Regions from separate parts of the Homo sapiens genome. Here region 2 is linked to region 1. Evidence: promoter capture Hi-C in human tissues and cell types (Jung and others, 2019). All regions are on one chromosome and are shown on one strand. The core of a region is centred on a gene start or on the middle of the fragment in contact, and the rest is flanking DNA. Distances in the headings are between cores, read along the strand shown.

Region 1 (4,735 bases), core at 1,766-4,265:
CTTTTGTCTATCTCCTTTTGGACCATTTGGGTTGAAGGGGGGTCCTTATTAGTTGGGGAAGGAGTCGGGGATGCTGGGATAGGGAGGTAGACTCTGAAGGCTTCCTGTAGGGCATAAATCACACTTTTTACATAATTGTGAGTTGTCTCTTAATGAAAAGAAAGTTTGTACTTATGGCACTTCACTCCATTTGCCTTTTCTACAAAAGAGGTCTAGCTGTAAGATGGTGTTATAATTTATACTTCCCTCAGGAGTGCCAGGCGGCACTGCAGAAGAATATAAGTCGTTTCTTTCTTAGTGTCTGAGGGTCAAATTGGTCCCAATTCTCCAGAATACGTCTTAGGGGCGTTTTTGTCTTGCGGGGAACGTTTCCCATCTGAAAAAAGAACATAGGGATGCCAGCAACCCTAGTCATTTTCCGATGAGCTTTAGTCCTGGAGTGTCCTCTATGGTCCTAATGCTTATTCTTTCCAGGGTGCATCACCACCCATGGACCTCTGCTTATCGAATTAGTTATGCTCACTGATGTTGCAGTCCTGCACCTGTTTTCCTGCCTCTCTTGACCACAAAGAAAGGGGTCCAGGCTGCTGGATTCTAGTGGTCCTTTACCAGCGTGCCCAACATTGCCTTTGTGCTCAGGGGTGAGTTCCTTTCCAGGGTGCGTAACCACCCATGGACCTCTGTTTATCGGATTAGTTATGCTTACCGATGTAGCAGTCCTGCACCCCTTTTCCCGCCTTTCTTGACCACAAAGAAAGGGGTCTGGGCTGCTGGATTCTAGTGGTCCTTTACCAGCATGCCCAACATTGCCTTTGCGCTCAGGGGTGAGTCCTAGAGCTGGGCTGGGTTCCTATTTTATAACAACCCAGCTGCCCCATCAAGATGCATTCCCATAAACAAGTTCTTATGCAAATGCATTACAGAGAGGGTGTAGCTAACCTTTTGAATCAGGATTGAGATAGTCTTTTGATTCTGTAAGTACTTTAAGGCTTGGCTGAGTGCAAACAGCTCACACGTTTGAGGAGACCAGTTATTAGGCAATTTTTCTAACTCTGCTTCCACAAGAGTCCCCGTATCAATTACTGAATACCCATTGTGGTTTTTTTCCTCAATCACCTGGGAGGAACCATCTATCGTCCTGTCCTGAAGGGAGTTCCGCCTAGGTCTGGTCGGACCTTTGTATGGTAATTAAGATTTAAATCCCGTTAGGAAATCTGCTGGGTTAAGGGAATTATCAGTGGTTGGAGTTACATTACCTTTTTCTAACAGAATAGCCCCATACTTTAAGATTTTTGAGTTAGTAAGCTACCTTTTTGCTTTTTTTATTAGAATAATTCTGAACAGGTGAGGTGTGCTCACAATGAGGTTTCCTCTAAAAGTTACTTTTCTACTTTTAGCAAAGCAGTTGCGCTACCGACTGAATGCATTTGGTCCATCTGCGGGTTACTGGGTTAAGGATTTTTGATAGGGAAGCTACGGGTTGTCAATGGCCTCAGTGCTTTCGGCCTATGCTCTTATTTACACTGACCACAAAGTGGATTGGAGTGCTATAGGGTCACAGAGAAGACCTTCAATTATCAAGTACAGGTTTTAAATTTACCCTGGCTTTTAAAGGAATAGGGCACACTGTTTTTTACTATTTCTTTCTCTTTCTTTCTCTCTTTGACTCTCTCTCTCTCCTCTTTGTCTCTCTCTCTCTTCTGTCTCTCTCACTGTCTCTCTCTCCTCTCTGTCTCTCTCTCTTTCTCCTCCATTTCTCTCTCTCTCCTCTGTCTCTCTTTTCCCTCAGCCATTTACAAACTTGGGGCCCTGGCAAGGGTGGTGGGGAGTGGGTCCTACATAACTGCCCATGTCAAGAGCTGTATGCCTAAATTGGGAGGGACACCAGGGATAAGACTCCCTGGGTTATAGCCTAGGTGCCTAAGGACGCAGCGCAGAGCTTCCTTAGATCCCTTTGGAGATACAACTTGCTAGAGGAAATGGAAGTCTGAACCAATAGTACCTAGGAGGCAGGGATCAGAGGAAGTATATTCAGAGGTAAGGAGAATTTTGGGGCTACACTTTGAAGAAAGTTGTGGTTGGGACCCAGGAGGTATGGGTCAGAAGGAAAGATAGGGGTGCATGCATGGGCGACTGTTGAGACTTCTGGCTACACCATGATCTCAACCGGCTACTGCCGGGAGTTCAGGACGACAGCTTTCTGCCTCTAGTCGGCCCTCGGCTTCCCCAAGAAAACTGAAAGTGGAAGCTGGCTTGAGGCAAACCAAGTCCCCAACCCAGAAGGGTTGGGGGTTGTTAGAAAGCCCTTCCCCAGATAGCCTCACACCTGAGTCTTAAGTCCGGTGGCCACACTAATCGTTTTTAACTGGCCGACAAGTGCCCGGTATTTTCCTCCAATTCTAAGGAAGGATAGGACAGAATAGCAAGTGAAAGTGGTCCAATATTACTCACCACTTTGGATGTCCGTTCGTGGTTGCCAAAATGTTACCGGGGGGTCCTTGCTCACAGAGCTCCCAAGATGGTGGTGAACCACTTCCAAGATGGTAGCAGGCCGCTTCCAAGATGGTGGCAAGCCTCGTATTCTCTGACCTGGAGTTCTTGGCCTCACGGATTCCAAGGAATGGAATCTTGGGCCATGTGGTAAGTGTTATAGTTCTATTAGAAGCCGTGGGTCACAGAAGAGAACCATGGAACCCAGTGACTAGTGTTCAGCTCAATTAGAACAAACCCAGGCACTTAGCCGTGCAGGAACAATGGCAAGCCTTTAGCCCAATTGGGAGCGGCAATGGGCGCCTCGCTGGATCAGGAGCACAGCGGACACCCTGCAGGATCCAGAGGGATGGGAGTCAGCGGCAGGTCTGCGGTGGTGGCAAACAGCAGTGGTGGACGGTGAGCAAAAGCTCAGCTCGAGCCGTAAGAAACATGGACCAGAAGAGTGCAGTTGCAAGATTTAATAGAGTGAAATAGCATGAAAACAGCTCCCATACAAAGGGAAGGGACCCAAAGGGGGGCTGCTGTTGCCAGCTCGAATGCCTGGGTTTATATCCCGATTGTTGTCCCTCCTGCTGTGCTCTCAGGCAATAGATGATTGGCTATTTCTTTACCTCCTGTCTTTGCCTAATTAGCATTTTAGTGAGCTCTCTGATTGGTCAGGTGTGAGCTAAGTTGCAAGCCCCGTGTTTAAAGGTGGACGTGGTCACCTTCCCAGCTAGGCTTAGGGATTCTTAGTCGGCCTAGGAAATCCAGCTAGTCCTGTCTCTCAGTTGCAAGATAATTGCTGTATCTCCAGGCGTTTTGCCCTCATCCCAGAAAGGAAGCCCGCCCCAGGGACTTCTGTCTATGTTCACTGTCCAGAACTATGTCACATAGCCACAAATGACTGCAGTGAAGATCATGTGACTCAGTAATTCACTCTCCAGAGAGTATAGGAAGGCAAGAGAGGTGGTGTTGGAATGGATGTTGAATGAATTCATCTATAGGATATACCACAACGTCGGGAATAAGTGGCAGATGTTACAATCGAAATGGGCTGATTATAAGTGGGGATAAGTGGCTCGTGGGGTGGCAGAGGTCAGGCAGTTGCAATATGAGAGGCTAGGTGGATGCAGCTACCATAATCAGCAGTAAAGCCAGCATGTTAATTGCAGTGGTCTGACCTGCAGGGATCTTTGGTGCTGCCTAATTATGGTAATACATAAGTTATTAAGAAATAGTTTTTTGGCAGCTAGAAAGAGTAAAGGTTTTTGGAAATTTTCTTGTAATAAGAAGCAACCCTCACCCATTCCAAACCATTCCTTTTCTAACAGAAAAGACAGCTTAAAGAGCCAGGCCAGCAAACTTTGATATGCAAATGCAGGCTATTAAAAACTAGGTCCACCCAACATGGCCACCATGGCGATTCCCACCCTCTTCTTGTCAGCACATGTACCAAGTGTCATGGCCCCCTCCAGATAATTCATGTGTTTTCAGAACATCATGGCAACCCACATTTGCATATTAAAGGGCTGAGGTGGGAGGGCCAGGTTTTTTGCGGGGTACATGAATGATACACCTGGTCAACCCAATCCCCTGGGCCCTGTGCAAATCAGACACCGCCTCCTCCAGCCTCCCAGTATAATCAACCACTTTTCCACTGCACATGGGGTTTCCTTCTCTCGGCTTGGAGCCCCCTCCCTCTGTGTCTGTACAGGGGAGCCTCTTCCTTCTTTTTTGCGTATTAAACTCTCTGCTCCTTAAAACCACTCCATGTGTGTCCGTGTTGTTGTCACCCCCGTCCCTGTGAAGAGAGTCCACCAAACAGGCTTTGTGTGAGCAACAAGGCTGTTTATTTCACCTGGGTGCAGGCGGGCTGAGTCCAAAAAAGGAGTCAGCTAAGGGAGATGGGGTGGGGCCATTTTATAGGATTTGGGTGGGTAGTGGAGGGGCAGGGGTCACAAGGTGCTCAGTGGGGGAGGTTTTGAGCCAGGAGAAGGAATTTCCCAAGGTTAATTGCTCAGTTAAGGTGGGGCAGGAACAAATCACAGTGGTGGAATGTCATCGGTTAAGGCAGGAACAGGCCATTTTCACTTCTTTTGTGATTCTTCAGTTACTTCAGGCCATCTGGATGTATATGTGCAGGTCACAGGGGATATGATGGCTTGGGCTCAGAGGCCTGACATTGCTGTCTTCTTATATTAATAAGAAAAATAATGTAAAATAGTGTTGAAGTGTTGGGGCAGCAAAAATTTTGGGGGTG
Region 2 (4,376 bases), core at 1,741-4,240, 37 kb after region 1:
CTGATCTTCCTAATAAAGTGTAAGCCTGACCAAACAAATCCAATGAAGGATGTTCATGTTCTATAGGCACAGGTCTGGGATTTGACATTACAGTTAGCACAATGAGTGCAGTGTAGCCTGAAGAAACATCTGTTAGGCGGAAAAGTTTTAAATGCTCCTTTTCTCTATGCCCAGTGATACATCTACCATAATGTGGCTCACTCAATAACCATTCCAACCCCATTCTCCCTTTCCTCCCTCTACGATAAAGACAGGAAAACAAATTCCTTTTTCTTTGAGACAGAATCTCGCTGTATCGCCCAGGCTGGAGTGCAGTGGCGCAGTCTCCACTCACTGCAACCTCTGCCTCCCGGGTTCAAGCGATTCGCTTGCCTCAGGCTCCCAAGTAGCTGGGATTATAGACATTGCAGCTAATTTTTGTATTTTTGGTAGACATGGGGTTTCACCATGTTGGCCAGGCTGGTCTCAAACTCCTGGCCTCAGGTGATCCGCCTGCCTTGGCCTTCCAAAGTGCTGGGATTACTGGCATGAGCCACCACGTCTGGCCTAATAATCTATTTAAAAAAATTTTTTTTGAGATATTGCCTAGGCTGGAGTGCAGTGGCACAATCATAGCTCACTGCAGTGTGGAACTCCTGGGCTCAAGAGATCCTCCCACTTCAGTCAGCCTCCTGAGTAGCTAGGACTACAGGCATGTGCCACCACATGTGTCTAATTTTTATTTTTACTTTTTTTGAAATAGAGTCTCGCTCTGTTACCCAGGCTGGAGTGCAGTGGTGAGATCTAGGCTCACTGCAACTTCCACCTCCTCAGTTCAAGTGGTTCTCCTGCCTCAGCCTCCTGAGTAGCTGAGATTACAGGATTAGCACCACGCCCCGATAATTTTGGTATTTTTAGTAGAGATGGGGTTTCACCATGTTGGCCAGGCTGGTCTCCAACTCCTGACCTCAAGTGATCCACCCATCTCAGCCTCCCGAAGTGTTGGGATAACAGGCGTGAGCTACCACGCCTGGCTTAATTTTTTTTTTAATTTTTTTGTAGAGATGGGGTCTTGCTATGTTGCCCAGGCTATTCTCAAACTCTTGGCCTCAAGCAATCCTCCCACCTCAGCTTCCCAAAGTGCTAGGATTACAGGTGTGAGCCACTGGACCCCACCTGCAAAGATCTTTAAGTTCAATATCTCATTTCCTGACTCTACCAGTATCCAAAGAATTAACTGAGTAAAAAGTAAAACAGTCTAGCACTCTTTTAGGCTACAATATTAATACTGAAACAACATGGGACAATTTTTTTTAATTACAACCACGTGGCAAAATGATCAATCTCTTAAAAGCCAAAAATATTCATATTTGCATTGGCAAATATAAGTATTTGTGTTATCATTTATTAAAGATTTCTCAGCTTCTCAAAAAGTTAAACATAATTCCTAGGTATATCCCAAAGGAGCTGAAAAGAGGAACTCAAACAGATACTTGTACACCAATGTTCACTGTAGCATTATTCACAGCAGCCAAAAATGTGGAAACAACCCAAGTGTCCATCAACAGATGAATGGATAAACAAATGTGGTATATGCAGTCAATGGAATAGTATTCAGCCATGAAAAGGAATAACATTCTGATACATACAACACAGATGAGCCTTGAAAACATTATGTTAAATGAAATAAGTCAGATACATAAGACAAATGCATACTTCTACTTATATATGAAATATCTAGAATAAGTAAATTCATAGAGACACAATATACATTAGAGATTACCAGGGACTGGGGAAAGGAGTGGACGGGGAATTATTGTTTAATGGGTACCAAGTTTCTCTTTGGGGTGATGGAAAAGTTCTGGATATAGATAGTGGTGATGGTTGTACAATATTATGAATGTAATTAATGCCTTTGAATTATACACTTAAAAATGGCGAACATGGCATATTTTATGTTATATATAGTTTAACACAATAAAAAAAGATTTGTATCAAAAAGGAATACAACATTCTTATTACTTAGCTAAAGCAACTAGAAATCTTACAAAACGTGTAAAAGAATTTTGATGTAACATATATATTTGAACTCACTAAATTCTCTCTAGGTTGTAACTTTAGAGATCTTGGAATTTTAGGGGTAACTTCCACTGGAGTTATCCTGACTACGGCATGCATTTCTATATTTAGTCTCTTCCTCAGGTCATCTGGAATCTGAAATTTAAAAATAAACAAAAATATAAATATATTCAAAGCTTGGTTAAGAAATATTTCATAGCATAAATATTGATATATTAGCTTCTATGAATTTAGGTGAAATAACAGAAGCTATCATAATAACTCATAGTTGTCTCAGTCCATGCAGGCTGCTATATCAAAATATCCTAAACTGGGTGGCTAACAAACGACAGAAACTTATTTCTCACAGTTCTCTTTTATAAGAGCACGAATCCCATTCATGAAGGCTTCACCTTCATGACCTAATCACTTCCCAAAGACCACACCTCCTAATACGATCACCTTGGGAGTTGGGATTTCGACATATGAATTTGAGGAGGACAAAACATTCAAATACCAACGGTGTGACCAGATGGATGTTCAGATATTGTTATACCATGAACATTTCAATCCTCTCCCTACATTTCTTTCCTTTTCTTTACATAATCTTCAGAATTAGAGCTTTAAATGTATGTATTTGACTGTATTCACCAAACCCATCTTTTAAACTATGGCACATTTACATTCAAATTAAATGTTATTTCTAATCTTTGAGCAGCCTTTATTTGTGAAAGTTAACAACCAATGAAGAAGCTGGAATGGCCAAAACTAATCACAGACAATCTGCCTGATTGTCTGATTAAATGATTAGATCCAGACAGAAACTTAATCTAAAAAGCAGAGTAAAATTTCTCCCACCCCCTAATGAAAATGTTCTAAACTTAGATTGTGGTGATGGCTGTACAACTAGTATAAATATACTAAAAATGACTGAATTGTACACTTTAAATTTTACCTCAGCCGGGCGCAGTGGCTCACGCCTGTAATCCCAGCACTTTGGGAGGCCGAGGTGGGCGGATCACAAGGTCAGGAGTTTGAGACCAGCGTGGCCAATATGGTGAAACCTCGTCTCTACTAAAACTACAAAAATTAGCCAGGCGTGGTGGTGGGAGCCTGTATCCTAGCTACTCGGGAGGCTGAGGCAAGAGAATCGCTTGAACCTGGGAGGCAGAGCTTGCATTGAGTGGAGATCGCCACCACACTCCGGCCTGGGCGACAGAGTGAGACTCCGTCTCAAGAAAAAAAAAAAAATTATCTATATATATATATATATATATATATATATATATATATATATATATATATATATATCAATAATGATGTTAAAAATTTTTCTCAACTTCCCAAATATAAGTAAGCACTGAAAGACATAAAGACGACTTTACTCTCTATTAACTTCTAAAGAGCAGGTGCAGACATATTAATGGTAGACAAAAGCATAAATAAAAACTCTAAGGTACATATTCTGACTTAAAGAGAATTTAACAATCAAGTTTCCTGTTTGTTTGTTGTTTTTTTTTAATCACCATGCTTCACAGGGTAATAAAGGTTCAAGTTAACATGAATTTGTTAGTTGTATCACCAAGTGATCAATTTTGATCTCTCAAGCCAAGTCCATTTTAGTACCTGATTTCACCTACTGTGACTTCTCATTGTCCATGGCTCTTCAACCTTCAGTGGAGTGGGAAGGGCGGAGTCCTTATTGCTATCTTAATCACAGGACTTTACCATCAGCACTTCTCCCTGTTCTCACCATATAATTTCAAGGAAATAAAAGGATATTCCCATCTAATGACAGAACCAGCTAAATCATAAGCTCAGTGTTAGATATTTTGAATTTGAGGATGCAGTGGGATCTCCTGAACGGACAGTTTAAAGCTAACAGAAAATAATGATCTGAGGCCAGGCACAGTGGCTCACGCCTGTAATCCCAGCACCTTGGGAGACTGAGGCAGGCGGATCACTTGAGACCAGGAGTTCAAGACTAGCCTGGCCAACATGGTGAAACCTCGTCCCTACTAAAAATACAAAAATTAGCCAGGAGTGGTGGCGCACACTTGTAGTCCCAGCTACTCTGAAGGCTGAGGCAGGAGAATCATTTGAACCTGGGAGGTGGAGGTTGTAGTGAGTGGAGGTGGTGCCACTGCACTCCAGCCTGGGCAACAAAGCAAGCTTCTAACTCAAAAAAAGAAAAGAAAAGAGAAGAGAAGAGAAGAGAAGAGAAGAGAAGAGAAGAGAAGAGAAAAAAGAAAAGAAAAGAAAAGAAAAGAAAAGAAAAGAAAAGAAAAGAAAAGAAAAGAATGGTCTGGAGCTTTAGAAAATGATGTAGGCCGGCCAGG

Evidence for each region. Contacts are between HindIII fragments. The study calls those that stand out against the background at their distance.
Region 2: a contact is called between a fragment that was not itself captured here and the fragment with the promoter of ERVW-1 in region 1, in 1 of the 25 tissues and cell types used here (aorta).

What each region holds. Positions count from the first base shown.
Region 1 is chr7:92,474,931-92,479,665 of GRCh38, forward strand. It overlaps ERVW-1 (endogenous retrovirus group W member 1, envelope), which reads right to left and starts at 3,016. Exons shown (of 2, transcript NM_001130925.2): 1 at 2,452-3,016. It also overlaps a transcript of GATAD1 not described here. RefSeq lists enhancers at 1,700-2,201, 2,339-3,258, 3,236-3,380, 3,270-3,700, 3,298-3,329 and 1 more, promoters at 2,906-3,238, 2,945-3,305 and cis regulatory regions at 3,330-3,391, 3,392-3,700. The HindIII fragment of the contact is 19,432 bases long and covers 1-4,735 here.
Region 2 is chr7:92,511,775-92,516,150 of GRCh38, forward strand. It overlaps PEX1 (peroxisomal biogenesis factor 1), which reads right to left. Exons shown (of 24, transcript NM_000466.3): 6 at 2,074-2,193. Among named protein-coding and RNA genes, the nearest start is that of PEX1, 15 kb to the right of the region's middle. The HindIII fragment of the contact is 6,462 bases long and covers 1-4,376 here.